Regions from separate parts of the Homo sapiens genome. Here all the other regions are linked to region 3. The links are contacts of gene promoters, found by promoter capture Hi-C in human tissues and cell types (Jung and others, 2019). All regions are on one chromosome and are shown on one strand. Each heading gives the region's core, a stretch centred on a gene start or on the middle of the fragment in contact. The rest is flanking DNA. Distances are from core to core; before and after follow the strand shown. Region 1 overlaps SYT1 (synaptotagmin 1). Region 2 has its middle 94 kb from the start of SYT1. Region 3 holds the start of SYT1 (synaptotagmin 1). Region 4 overlaps SYT1 (synaptotagmin 1). Region 5 has its middle 70 kb from the start of SYT1.

What was found. Contacts are between HindIII fragments. The study calls those that stand out against the background at their distance.
Region 1: a contact is called between a fragment that was not itself captured here and the fragment with the promoter of SYT1 in region 3, in 4 of the 25 tissues and cell types used here (dorsolateral prefrontal cortex, liver, lymphoblastoid cells and 1 more).
Region 2: a contact is called between a fragment that was not itself captured here and the fragment with the promoter of SYT1 in region 3, in 2 of the 25 tissues and cell types used here (hippocampus and lymphoblastoid cells).
Region 4: a contact is called between a fragment that was not itself captured here and the fragment with the promoter of SYT1 in region 3, in 4 of the 25 tissues and cell types used here (dorsolateral prefrontal cortex, hippocampus, mesendoderm cells and 1 more).
Region 5: a fragment that was not itself captured here is called in contact with the fragment with the promoter of SYT1 in region 3 in 4 of the 25 tissues and cell types used here (adrenal gland, mesenchymal stem cells, spleen and 1 more).

Annotation. Positions count from the first base shown.
Region 1 is chr12:78,953,860-78,956,559 of GRCh38, forward strand. The region is part of intron 1 of SYT1 (synaptotagmin 1); the gene reads left to right. The region is part of intron 5 of LOC105369863 (a long non-coding RNA gene); the gene reads right to left. Among named protein-coding and RNA genes, the nearest start is that of SYT1, 90 kb to the left of the region's middle. The HindIII fragment of the contact is 3,775 bases long and covers 1-2,700 here.
Region 2 is chr12:78,769,183-78,772,060 of GRCh38, forward strand. No RefSeq gene overlaps it. Among named protein-coding and RNA genes, the nearest start is that of SYT1, 94 kb to the right of the region's middle. The HindIII fragment of the contact is 6,830 bases long and covers 1-2,878 here.
Region 3 is chr12:78,863,524-78,866,263 of GRCh38, forward strand. SYT1 (synaptotagmin 1) reads left to right here and starts at 1,251. Exons shown (of 11, transcript NM_005639.3): 1 at 1,251-1,586. RefSeq lists a silencer at 35-94. The HindIII fragment of the contact is 3,235 bases long and covers 1-1,615 here.
Region 4 is chr12:78,932,905-78,935,604 of GRCh38, forward strand. All of the region lies in intron 1 of SYT1 (synaptotagmin 1), which reads left to right. All of the region lies in intron 6 of LOC105369863 (a long non-coding RNA gene), which reads right to left. Among named protein-coding and RNA genes, the nearest start is that of SYT1, 69 kb to the left of the region's middle. The HindIII fragment of the contact is 4,770 bases long and covers 1-2,700 here.
Region 5 is chr12:78,792,987-78,795,686 of GRCh38, forward strand. It overlaps the pseudogene LOC642550. Among named protein-coding and RNA genes, the nearest start is that of SYT1, 70 kb to the right of the region's middle. RefSeq lists an enhancer at 401-1,600. The HindIII fragment of the contact is 4,145 bases long and covers 1-2,700 here.

The DNA.
Region 1 (2,700 bases), core at 124-2,623, 90 kb after region 3:
TTTGGGCCCTTAGCCAGGGTTGCTTTTTAAAACTATCCAAATATTTTTTTTAAAAATCCTCAATGATATTTATATGTCTACTAACATTTCAGTTGTTTTTATAGGGTCAGTGATATTAAGGCAAATTATTCAGATTCACATGGTGAACAAAGGCACTTCATAGAATTCTTGGACTACTTAGAGAATCAGAGAGATACTTTCTCTAGCTGCTACTTCATTTGTGGCCTTAGAGAAATAATGCATTAATCTCCAATTAGATCATGTCATCTTTCAGGATGTTTAGCTAAGGTGAAATGTGTAATTAAACATTTTAAATTGCATGTCACCTCCACCCACAGGGTTGACACATGTTTTCTTTTTGGTATAGTTTTGTGTAAGGATTCACTCAGTATATCCAGAAGTCACCTTGACCATGAAAATAAATCTGCTGCAAATTACAGCCTCACAATTAACTCAAACATTATCATCTATTATTTGTGTTCTCTGACTTGAGGAGCAGGTATTTGATTTTTTTCCACTTTTTACTTATTAACATAACTTTTATATTTGAATATATAGTAATTTTTTAAATTACCAAAATGATAGCAGGTATTAAGTGACAGTCTTCAGAATGATCCTATGTGGTACCCTGTGTAGCTTTTCTTATAATAAAAATATACATGGAACATCAGAGAGAGAGAGAGAAAGAGAGAAAGAAAAATATATGTAAATATCTTTTTAATATTGAGCTAATTTAAGCTTCATCAGTTTGTTGTGCATATGATATTTACCCTACAGATTTGTTTTCAATAATGGTATACTATGATGAATAACTTTAAATAGAAGTATTTTTCATTTAGAACTTTGTTGAATATTAGCACATGAGGGAAAAATAAAATATGTAACTCATCTATCTGTGTAAAATAATAAATGCTAGATCTAAAGGAGCCATTTGCTAAAATGTACTTAAACAAATGCATATTGCCTGCATTATATTTCTCTACTCTTTTATTGCACTATTAGTCAGAAATTTAAATTCTATTTTTGAGCTTGTGATTATCCTGAATACTAAGTGAAAGGGAAGTGATGATGGAATTTTTATTTTAATGATAACAACAGTTTTCAAGGGAGATAATCAAAATCTTTTTCTGAAGTTTGAAGATGAGAAAACTGTGTAAATCCATCTGCTGAGTTCATGTGCCTTTTGAGATTTGCTTTTCTGTCTTTTAATTTCACATTTCTGGTTTTTAAATTATTTCTCCTATAAAAGAATTTTTTGATGTCATTAATGCCGTTTCATTTTGAAATGACGGTTAAACAGAGTTTCTAATAATTCAACAGTTCTGTTTGGTTTTGTACAACATGTTATATTCAGGTGATATCTGAATGATCAACTGGATCAAAATTCAGAAGACAAGAAAAGCGTTGCTTGATCGATTTTCAAACACACATTCAGGTTTTGTCCATAGATCTTGAATGCCATAACACCAGTTGTGCCTCAGGGAAAAGCATATGCTTACTTGTCACATAGATTTTTAGTTGGTATGTTAGACCATTTGGGTCATTATAACAAAATACCTTAGACCGGGTAATTTATAAATAACAGAAATGTATTACTTACAGTTCTGGAAGCTGGAAACTCCTGGATCAAGGCCCTGGCAGATTCTGTCTGGTGAGAGCCCATTCCTTATGGTGGTAACTTCTATATGTCTTCCCACCACAGAAGGGGTAAGCAAGCTTCTTGGCCTCTTTTATAAAGGCACTAATTCCATTCATGAGGGCAGAGCCCCCCCAAAGGCCCACCTCTTAATGCCATTTTTGGAGACACAACATTCAAACCACAGCAATTGGTTTTAGTGTCATTGAACTACAAGCTTTATAAGGACCAGAAAGAAACTTTTTTTTTTGCCCTTAACCTAACAGTTTTCTGGGTCCATGCGTTTTATTTTCTGCCAAGATATTTGTGTGTGTGTGTGTGTGTGTGTGTGTGTGTGTGTGTGCATGTAGAGAGAGAGAGAGAGAGAAGCACTCAAATGCAATGTCTGCACTATCAATTGCATTTTCCCCTATCTTTTGAAATTTCAAGTTCAAACTCGTAGTTTAATATTTTTCTTTGGCTGAAAATAAATGAGTTGATCTGTGTGGAATGGGGTGATAAAAGAGGTCAAGGTGTGTGGGTAAGGATGGAAACTTCTATAATATGAAAAAATACTGCAATGAAGGTGCAGTATGAGGGTGCTTTACTTCTCTATTGAACACAGATACTTTTTGAATGGAAATGTGGTATGTAGTAATTTGGGAGAGAGTATCTTAGTAATAATGGAGTACCAACATTGACAGAATGACTGGTATGGGGGGGCAGAATGTGCATTTAATAAATATTTCACAAAAGTGCAATAACAGTCTGAGAAATACCTGGAACATTTTAACATAAGATATTAATATAAAACACAGACAAATAATCTGGAGACACACTTATTGAGTTTGAATCCTAGCTCTTCTCCTTTTTTTTTCCATGATGGGCAATTTGTTTAACTTCCCTGAGCCTCAGTTTCCTCATGGGTAAAATTGGGGAAACAGTAGCATCTATTTCATTAAATTGTCTTGATGGTTAACTGAGTTAATATCTCTCTCCCTACCCCTGCTAGAAAGAAAACTTGAGGAGGTTTTAACGTGTTTCAGGAATGTGGCCCAAACACCTGAAACAATGATGAAAATCAT
Region 2 (2,878 bases), core at 86-2,585, 94 kb before region 3:
ATGCAAAATATAGAAAAAACTCAATTCAATAGCAAGAAAACAATCTGATTTTAAAATGGGCAAAGGTCCTGAACAGATTTTTCAAAAGAGGATACACAAATGTCCAGCAGGTATTTGGAAAAAATGCTCATCGTCAGGAAAATAGAAATTAAAACCATAATGAAATATCACCTTTCTCCAGGTAGAACAGCTATTATCTAAAAGACAAAAGATAAATGTTGGAGAAAATGCGAAGAAATGGGAATTCATGCACACTGTTGGTGAGAATATAAATTAACACAGTCATTATGGAAAACAATATGGAAGTTCCTCAATAAACCAAAATTAGAACTAACATATAATCCGGCAATCCCATATGGGTATTTATCCAAAGGAAATAAAATAATCATGTTGTGGATATATCTGCACTCCCATGTTTGTTGCAGCATTATTCACAATAGCCAACATATGGAATCAACCTAAAATATCCATCAACAGATGAATGAAGAAAATATGGTATACATACACAATGGAATACTATTCAGCTAAGAAAAAGAAAATTCTCTCATTTGGGGCAGCAATGATGAACCTGGAGGACATTATGTCAAGTGAAATAAGCCAGACAGAGAAAAACAAATATTGTATGATTTCACATGTATGTTGATTCTAAAAAAGTAGAACTCATAGAGGTAGAGAGTAGAATGGTGATTAACAGGGATTTGGATGGTGGTGGGAGAGGAGGTTTGGAAGATGTTAGTCAAAAGTTACAAAGTTTCAGGAAGATAGAAGGAGTAAGTTCAAGAGATTTATTGTACAGCATGGTGACTATAGTTAAGAACAATGTATTATATTTTGTATTCCAATTTTTTAAATTATGTATTGTAATCTCAAAAAATTTTAAGGGAGGTCTTATGTTCTCACCACAAAAATTATAACTATGTGAGGTAATGTATATTTTAATTAGCTTGACTTAGCCATTCCCCAATGTATACATTTTTCAAAATATCACGTTGTTCACAGAAAATATACAATCTGTCATTTTCAAAATAAAATGAAACTTACAATAGTGTAGTTCCAATTACTCTATTCTCTTCTTTATGTTGTTGTTATGATTTACCTCTACAAAGTTTACAAACTTTACAATAATACCCTTTTTATTTTTTAGTCAATTGACTTTTGAAGAAATCAAGAGAAGAAAAAATATATATTCCTTCATATTTACCCACATATTTGCCACTCTGGTGGTCTTCATTCTTCCTGCAGATCTGAAATTCTATCTGGTATCAGTAACTTTCAGTCTAAAATATTTTCTTTAGCATATTTTGAAGTGTATATTCATTAGTAACTAATTTTCTCATCTTTTGTTTATCTGGAAATTTTAATTTTCATCCTCATCTTTGAGAGATATACATACAACATTTTGTTATATGTTGTTGTATATATGTTATATGTTGTTATATGTTGTTATAGTACATACAACATTTTGGGGTTTTGACTGTTTTGTTAGTATTTTTGTTCCAGCACTTTAAAGATATCATCACATAATGATATTACATAGACAATATCACTCCACTATCTTCTAGCCTCCATTTTTCCTACCAATGAAAAGTCTGCTGTCATGATATTCATATTTTTCTATATTTGATGTATGTTTTCCTTTATACTTAATTTTCAAAAATGGACTAAGATACAGTATGTGTGGTTTTCTTTGTATTTATCCTTCTTAGAGTTCACCAAGCTTATTTATCTACAAGTTGATATTTTGCCCTGAAATTAGAGAAATTTCTGATATTATTTCTTCGAATATATTTTTCTTTCCCATTCTCTCTCTATTTTCTTTCTTGGACTCCAGCATGCAATGGTAAACTGGCTGATATTGCCTTATGGTTACTGAAGCTGTATTCCTTTGTTTTTCAACCTTTCTTTCCTCAGATCTTGTCATGGAATTATTTTTGTTTGTCTTTGAATTCTGACCTTTTATTTTTTAGTCTCAAGTTTGTTGTTATATTCATTTAGAACATTTTAAAATTGTCAGATATTATAATTTTAGTATTAAAATTTTCATTTGGTTCTTGTTTCCTATTTCTCTATTGAGATTTTCTATATATTAATTATTTATATCTTTTATGTAAATCACTGAACATATTACTACTAGTTACAGTGAAGTCTTTGTCTGCTAATTCCAGCATCTAGGTCATCCTGAAGGTCTGTTTTTATTAACTGTCACCTTCATTTCTGGCCACATACTCTTGTTTCTTTATACTTCTAATATTATTTGTTTTAAATTATATTCTGGACACTGTGGTTGATGTGCTGTAGAGAATCTGAATGTTGTCTTCCTTAAAGAATATCATATTTTGTTTATTTGGACAAATCAATTACTGTAACACTACTTTATCAATTACACAAATTGATAAGCCACAAATTTGTCTATGAGACTCCTAGTAAACAGAGGAAAGAAGAACAGTGAACACAGTATCAATAATGCTAAAAGAAAATCCATATATTTAGGAGAGATAATTATTTTTGACTTGCCAGAATGGTGTGTGTGTGTTTTATTTTTCCTTCTTTGTGCATATTCTCCACAGCTCTCAGCCAAGTACATAAAGGGACCTCTATCAGAGTTCTGTGTCCATCTCTCTGTCCAGCTGTCTCCTCTTTGGTACCTTACCCAGTACATTCCAGACACCTCAGCAGCATTTCCAACATCTGCCTCTTCAACTTAGCAAGACTTCTGTGCTCTACTTCATTTCTATATCCTTGTAGCACCATCTAGAAAGAGATCACAGGTAGAAAGCAAGGGTAAATGTGCAGTTCACCTCATGTGTCTCTCTTCTTTTGAGAATTAGAGTTTTTAACTTCTGAGGCTTAATGCCTGTCGAGTATTTTATCCAGATTT
Region 3 (2,740 bases), core at 1-2,500:
GATAATGGACGGGCCCCTCTCCCAGCTGGGCTCCGCTCCCGCCCCTAGCCTGGCGCGCGGTCCCTTCCCCCACCCGCTGAGCCTTCCTGTTCGGTATTTCGGTATTACCAAGCTATAAATTGCCTGAGAGCTTAGAGACAATCAGGTCACCACCGCCCTCACAAGAGAAAAGCTTCTTACTTCCGAGCAGAACGGTTCAGCTGGGAAGAGAGGAAGCAGGGAGAGAATCTATGCTTTAGTCGTCACTGCTCTGGCAAGGGGTCGAGAGAGATGGGGGAGGGAGGTGGCAAAAAATAAAAATGAAAAAATAAAAAAGCATCTCCAACAATGTTGCACTTGACCCAAGTGTACAAACTTATTGGTCGCTGCAATGGAAACTCCCAGTGCACTCTCCACGGCCTGGCAGCCGCCGCTGATGGGTGGAGTCGCGCTCCCGGCCCCACCTATGGGACGGAGCTGCTTCTCCCGCATCTCGGCTCCACCGCACCCTTCGCGGGAAGTCCCCAGGCTTCCAGCAAAGCTCAGCTTATCCCGCCCCCGCTTCCAACCCGGAACCCCAGAAGAACAGCATGATGAGCCTCCGGCAGCCAGGTGGGCCACCTCCCCGCGGCTCAGTTTGAGGACACTTGTGCGGAACCCTTTCACATCCCCACCCTACCCAGCTTTCACAACTCCGCCGGGTTAAATGGCCAAAGACAAACTTCTACCTCTCCTGTCCCCGGTCCCAGCTTTTCAAAAACCCACAGCTGGCGAACCCACACACATCGAAACTCCTAGGTCGCTGTTGCAGTCTGGGCATGCTCAGTATCAGGGTAGGTTTTGATTGAGAGTAAAAAAAAAAAAAAAAAAGCTTTGTATTATGCTCTCTTTCTCCTGTGCATACTGCTTGCTGAACAGCTTGTGGGGCATTCCTGAGTCTACCTAGAGGTTTTATCAGACGCCCTTGATTGTGTCTCCTTGGGATCTGTTCCCCTCTTACTTCACCCCCTCCCCCAACCCGCCTCCACCCCGCTTCCCAGGTCCCTGTCCGCTGTGGGGATGGAGAGACACTAACAGAACTGGGATGGGCGATGTTGGCTGAACGGATCCACCTATTATTAGTGCGCGGGGATTGGCTCCTTGGCGCAGCGTACCCGAGGTGGAGCCAATCAGGATGCTGGGGCTCGGAGATGATGGGCGGCCGCCTCCTCACTGGAGGGATTCCTGGAGAAGCTGCAGTGTGGGGATGCTCTAGACCGAGTACTGCCCCCAGTGTCTTTCCACCTCCTCCTGCAGCAGCGGCAGCGGCAGCAGCAGTTAGCAGCGGCAACTTGAGGCTGCACCCCGGGCAAGTCCCCAGGGTGGTGCTCAGCCGAGAGGGGGGCTTGGCGCCCCGAAGGGGTGTGTGTAGGGTGGGGGCGACCACGTGGGACCAGCTGGTGGCCCTGGAAAACCTCCCACACACCCACACCCACACACCCCTTTTGTGTTGCAGGCTGCCCCTCCAAGAGCGGAGGCAGCGAGAGTACGCGTGTGCCTCGCGCCGGTCCACGCGGGGAGAGCACTGGGGACCGAGACCCGGCACCACCTCCCGGTCCGCCCTCCAGGTAAGGAAGCGGGACTGGCGGCGCGGCCACCTCGGCGGTGCCTATCTGCTCGAATCCATCCCAAAGATTTTCTTCTCGATACACTTGGGTTTTAGTGGTGGGAGTCTGAGACCTAGGGAGGGATCCCCGGGTGGCCTATTGTGAGAAATATGAGACTACATGTGCATCTCCTGGAAAAGCACTTTGCACAGCGCCCGTGATTTAGAGCCTGGAGTTGATGTTGGGCATCCCCCATCTTCTTGCTTCCTCTTTCCTTCTCTTGTTCTCTCTCCTCCGTCCCCCACCCCCAATCTCAATCTTTTCTCTCTTTCTCTCCCACACCTCCCCTCTCGCCCTCCTCCCACCCTAAGCACGCACAGCGTTTCTTTCTCCTCCTGGAGAGGATTGCCTTTCTTAGAGGAAAGAGGGGGAGTGAAGAAAGGAGAAAGATTTCTTTCTGTTGGGGAGAGGGATATGGGGGGGGGGGGGAACGTAAACAAGATAGAATACAAGCTCTGCGAAAATCAGAGCACATAAAGCAATTAAACTGAATAAGGGGAGTAGACAACCAGTCCAGCTTGGGCTGTCAGAGAGAGGAAGCGTCAAGTTTGACTTGATTTCCTCCTTGCAAGAGTCTATGTCTCTCACTTGATTCGTTCAAATGGAACAAAAATAAACCGACAATCCAACCCACTTTCAACTGCTTAATTGCTTTTGCTTTTGAGTGCCAACCATCTGACTTTTCCTGTTTCCATCTGTCCTGTGGGGCTAACAATTTGGTATTGCACATCAGTGTTAATATCTGAACTTTGAAAGCTTTCTTGAGTAACAAAAAAAAAAAAACAATTAAAATAGATTATTACTTTCCTGAGGTTTCTTGGTATGGCCTGTTGTTGGGGGATCAAAAAATGTAAAGTTTCAAAACATTTGCAAGGGACAACAATTTTATAGGGAGGCTTGGATTTCTACTTTGAGAAAGCTAATCTTCTAGTTAGCTTTGTGTACATGTTGATATTCACTTTCTCCAGTATTAACCCTTTCGTGAAATAAAGCAACTGTTTAACTTTTGTATGGAAGCTACATTTGTGTAGAATTTTCACTTTATTCTACCTTTGTACTATTTGCATTTTATTGTCTGGATACCAAACTTATGCCTGGCTTTATTTTCTTTTAAT
Region 4 (2,700 bases), core at 9-2,508, 69 kb after region 3:
TCTCAAACACAAAATCTCAGAACGTCTTACTTTCATGCAAAAAAACTAAGTTCTAAAAAAGCAAATTTATATCACCTTAAGACGTCCAAAAGTATAAAGGTTATTGGACATCACTCCTGGTATCCTTGGAAATATTTGTTTGATTTTGAAGAAAGCCTCTAAGCAGTCAAGTTGAGTAATATTTTTAACTTACTCTTCTCGACTTTGAAAGAGTGCACCTGTGAAGAAATATCTAGGGCATAGATATTTCCTCATCTCTCTTTATCATCTTGCTTTCTACCATGTTGGTCTGCATATGGTTAGATGAATCTGTGTGACTAATACCAGGGCAATCTTGACCTCAGTGTATCAACTTCTGTGAGCCTGTCTTGTCTAAAATGAATTTGGCTGAGTTATAGAGCCTCTAAGAAACTCTTACCAGAGGAAGGAAGACAAAAGTTTGCGGTGGGAAAGTGAAGAGGTCAAAAAAGGAGCTAGAACTTACTAAATAAACATTTTAGCATATATTATCAATATAAGAGTAACCCAGGAAAATCATTGTTATGGCTTCTATATTCTTGAATTTAGTAGTAAAAATAATTTGATTTTGGCTTAAATGTAATGTTCTATTTCTTAAGGTCCTGTTTCTCAAGGTCCCATTTCTTTTCACTCTACTTGTCAAGTTCAAGACCATTTAAAAAATTAGTATTTTGCTAGTACAGTTTATTAATAACCATCTCATTTAAAAGATAGAGATATATGTCAGGTGCACTCAACTTTATGTTTCAGATCACCTTGGATACTGTTTTAGCATTAGTTTAATAATTTTTGATAATTCATCATAAACTTCCATCACAGATATTAGCATAAATTCTACAGGCCAATTTTTTTAATAAATCCTTGTTTTACCTCATCAAGAGAGAAATAAAGAGTGAGAGAAAAGTGAAAGAGAGATTGAGATGGGGTAGAATCCGATAACATTAAAATTTAAGGGAACATGCCTGCTTTGTGTGTTTGTCTGTTTGGTTATTTCCAGAAACATAGGAATCTCAGTAGGAGAAATTGAGTATAATGTTCTGTATTTAAGGGATGCAGTTTATATGTCTTTTTGGTCAATACAGTTATTCCCTTTATTCAGGGGGATATGTTCCAAGACCCCCAATGGATGCCTGAACCACAGATAGTAGTAAACCCTATATACACTGTTTTTACATATATATATGTGTGTATATACATATGTGTGTGTATATATGTGTGTGTGTGTATGTGCGTGTGTACACACACACACATACACACACACACACACACCATACCTGTTGATATGGTCTGGCTGTGTCCCCATCCAAATCTCACCTTGAATAACCGTCATGTGTCAAGGACAGGGCCAGGTGGAGATAATTGAATCACAGGGTGAATCACTTGAGTCAAGGAGTTCAAGACCAGCCTGGGCAACAGGGCAAAAACCTATCTCTACAAAAACAAACAAACAAACAAAACAAAACAATTAGCCAGGTGTGGTGGTGCACATCTGTAGTCTCAGCTACCCAGGAAGCTGAGATGGGAGGATCACCTGAGCCTGTGGGGTTGAGGCTGCAGTGAGCCATGATTGTGCCATTGCACTTTAGCCTGGATAATAGAGCAAGACTCTGTCTCAAAAAACAAACAAATAAAACGAAATAACAACAACAGAAAAAACACTTGTCTTACATCATGTCCGGAATTGAAAACACCTGTCACGCAGTCAAAAACTAGATTAATTTTCTATGTGGAATATAGAAAAAGAAAGAAGTTGAAGTGGAAAATCTGGAGCAAAATATTTATATTGAAATAAAATCTGAACATTTTTTTGAAAAGATACACTGAAATTTACTACACAAATAAGTCAAGGCTCTCTCTAAAGAATGTGGCATATAATTTTTGTCTTTAGAAAGTATTAGAAGCATGGTGATGGCTGCACGGCCTCCACATTCTCTGCGGGTAGATGAAATCTTGAATTTAGGAATTCAAGCAGATCGTGCTTTCTGCCCTTAGAGAAAAGGTATTACATGTTGGTAACTGAGGTATAAAATAACCAAAGCCCAGATCTCGTCTCGTGCTCCACGGAAATCATGCCTCGCCCGAGTCTATAATTGGCTGAATTCATTTCCAATGAATGAAATGCAAAAACATGGAAAAGACTAAAATTGAAATTTTATAATTTAAAAGATTTAAACTGTGAGGATGGTACATCCTTGACCTAGAGAATTTTGAATCTGTCTTTGGACAGGTGGGCAACCATAGGAAGCAAGTAGGTGTCTGGAGATGGCTGCAGAGACATCCCGTCCCCTCGGTAGCACTGATTGCATTTTCCATGAAGGTTGCTCTTAACTTCAAAGCAGACACTCTGCTGTGAAGGTTCTGAGAGGTTAGTTCTGGGTCTCGTTGTTTCAATTAATCATTTATTCAATTAATAAATTTTGAGCTCCTGCTGTGAATCAGGCAGTATGCTAGGCCCTGTGGCTACAATATAGGCATGGTTCATGTTTTCAGCAAACGACATTTTACTGCTTTGGTAAAAATAACAATTCATCAGAAGAAAGGCTATATACTAAGTTATAGAACAGAACAGAAGTAAGACCCTCCAAAAAGGAATGTGAATATACAAGAATGGATATGAATAATTTTCCAAATTATAGGTTCAGCTTGGGTAAAGAAAACTGTGGGATTAGTTACCCTTGCTTT
Region 5 (2,700 bases), core at 2-2,501, 71 kb before region 3:
CAGATTCACAGATGAATTACTCTCAGTTTAACTACATGCAACAACCATACCAATAACTTTTTCTTCTAAATTTTGCATAACGATGGTTTAAAAAAAAGTGGTACAGTTTATCATGTTCACAATTGTCATTTTTCAAGGTAGTAGAAGACCAATATATTTTAAAATGATATAAAATTTAAGCTTTATTTAAAAAAACACGAGAGAAAGTCACCTTTCCTCCCATTCCCCACCCCCATCTCACCTCTTTAACATTTCAAGAAAGACTGCCTGAGAAAAGCAAGCTCATATGCTACATTCAGGACGATGATAAATGTAGGCAATAATGAAATAAGTTGAACTTTGCCTCTTGGTAAAGCCACATTTATTTCTTTTTTAAGTAAATTTGACTTTTATTGCAGTTCCAATTCATGCTTTTAGTGATATACAACAATTTCCAAAATGTTAAAGTAATTTCAGTAATTGAGCCTTCAATGGCAATGCTTATAAATTATATTTATTAGTATGGTCAAGATAAGAAAGGAATTTGGACTTTGATTATAAAATGCAGCACCTTTCTCTGATTCTCTTGGCTGAACTTTTCCTCTTCTTTTTTCCATTCTTTTCTTTGCTGTCTTCCATCTTTTTTGCTCGAATTTCTCTCATTAAATCAAAAAGTACCTTGTCAACATTAGCTGTGTTTTAGCAGATGTTTCCACATAGTTAACATTCCACTGGTCAGCTCTGTTTTTTGCCTCTTTTACAGAAACCGGCCTTTTATCTTCTAAATCTGATTTGTTACCAACCAGTAGAAATGGAACATTCTCATCTTCTTTTACTCTTAAAATCTGCTCCCTGAAGTCAGCTGTAGCTGCAAAGGATTCCATTTCTGTAATAGAGAAGACACAGAGAAACCCCTCTCTGCTTCGGAAATAGTTGTCCCTAATTGCAGCATAGTCCTCCTGCCCAGCTGTTTCTAAGATACCGATCTGTACTTCCTCGCCATCCAGTACTACTCTCTTCCGATAGGTGCCTTCTTTGATCGTACATGAACTGTAGAGTCAGAGCTGCCTTGCCCACACCGGCACTGCCCACCGTGATGACTTTGTGTAAGGCCAAATTATTCTGACCCTTGGGCTTATTTGCGGCCATCTTGTGTTGTAGTTCTCACCAACAGGTTAGGAAGAATCTGCACCGTGAGCCAGTCCGCCGCCCCGAGGGCTCCGGAAGCAGCGGGTGCTCGGCCCACGTCGCCTGCGAGGCCCCGCACTGGGAGCAGTCGAAGGAGGAGTCTTTATTATTTCTATTTCACCTATGATGAATATGATCCTCAGTCGGCCAAGGTCACAAAGCTTTTAAGAGGTAATACCAGAATTCATACCCAGATAGTTCTGTCTCCTAATGTAGTGCTTTTCAAATATTGACGTGCATGAGATTCACTAGGATATATTATTAAACGCAGATGTTTATTCCATGGGTCTAAAGTGTATCTGAGATTCATTGTTTCTAACAAACTGCCAGGTGATCTCAATGTTGCTGCTGATGTACCCCACTTTGAATAGCAAGGTCCTAAAAAGTTGAATCCTGAGATATGGAAAGGACGATAAATACAAGAGTAGCCTGTTGGAGCATTTGGAATCACACAAAAAGAGTAATTAGGCTCTTGTCTTATTTTTTTCTCCTACAAGGCAAAAATCTTAGTAAGCAGCAAGACCGTTTATTACACATCCTCTAACATAGAGCAACAATCAAGAGTTGAACAAAAATAATGGGATAATGGACATAAGCAACCAAACCATGGCATTCTCTTCTGGGGAAGCAGGGGTGGTGGTGGAAAGGCCTTGGGTTTCAGCAGGCTTTTGCAAATGACTTCTGTATCAGTTACCTGTGGGTTTGACCACATCTTTTCCCCTATAAATCAGGATGCTATGTTGATTACCGAGAAAGGAAGTAAAATGGAAAAATATTCTTTTTTATTATTATTTTGCAGAAACTGAGCATACCTTGCATGAGACCGCCTAAGTCATTGTGCTCAACTGTGCTTAAAAATTTTGCATCTCAGTTAGATATCAGTCCTTATCCCGACAGAAAACAATATATTGAAAAGGCCAAGCAATAATCCTTCAAGTGCTTCTAAGTGTTCAAGTGAAGGAAAGAGTTATTCATCTTCCTTTAAATCAGAAGCTAGACATGATTCAACTTAATCAGGAAGGCATGTCAAAAGCCAAGATAGGCCAAAAGCTAGGCCTCTTGCACCAAACAGTTGGCCAAGTTGTAAATGCAGAGAAAAGATTATTGAAAGAAATTAAAAGTGCTACCCCAGTGAACCCATGATTAATTAAAGGGGAAAAAAAAGGGCCGGGTGCGGTGGCTCACGCCTGTAATCCCAGCACTTTGGGAGGCCGAGGTGGGCGGATCACGAGGTCAGGAGATCGAGACCATCCTGGCTAACATGGTGAAACCCCGTCTCTACTAAAAAATACAAAAAATTAGCTGGGCATGGTGGCGGGCACCTGTAGTTCTAGCTACTCAGGAGGCTGAGACAGGAGAATGGCGTGAACCCGGGAGGCAGAGCTTGCAGTGAGCCAAGATCGAGCCACTGCACTCCAGCCTGGGTGACAGAGCAAGACTCCGTCTCAAAAAAAAAAGAAAAAGAAAAGAAAAGAAAAAGAAGCAAAGAAGCAGCAACCTTACTGTTTGTCTGGGAAAGTTTTATTTATTTAT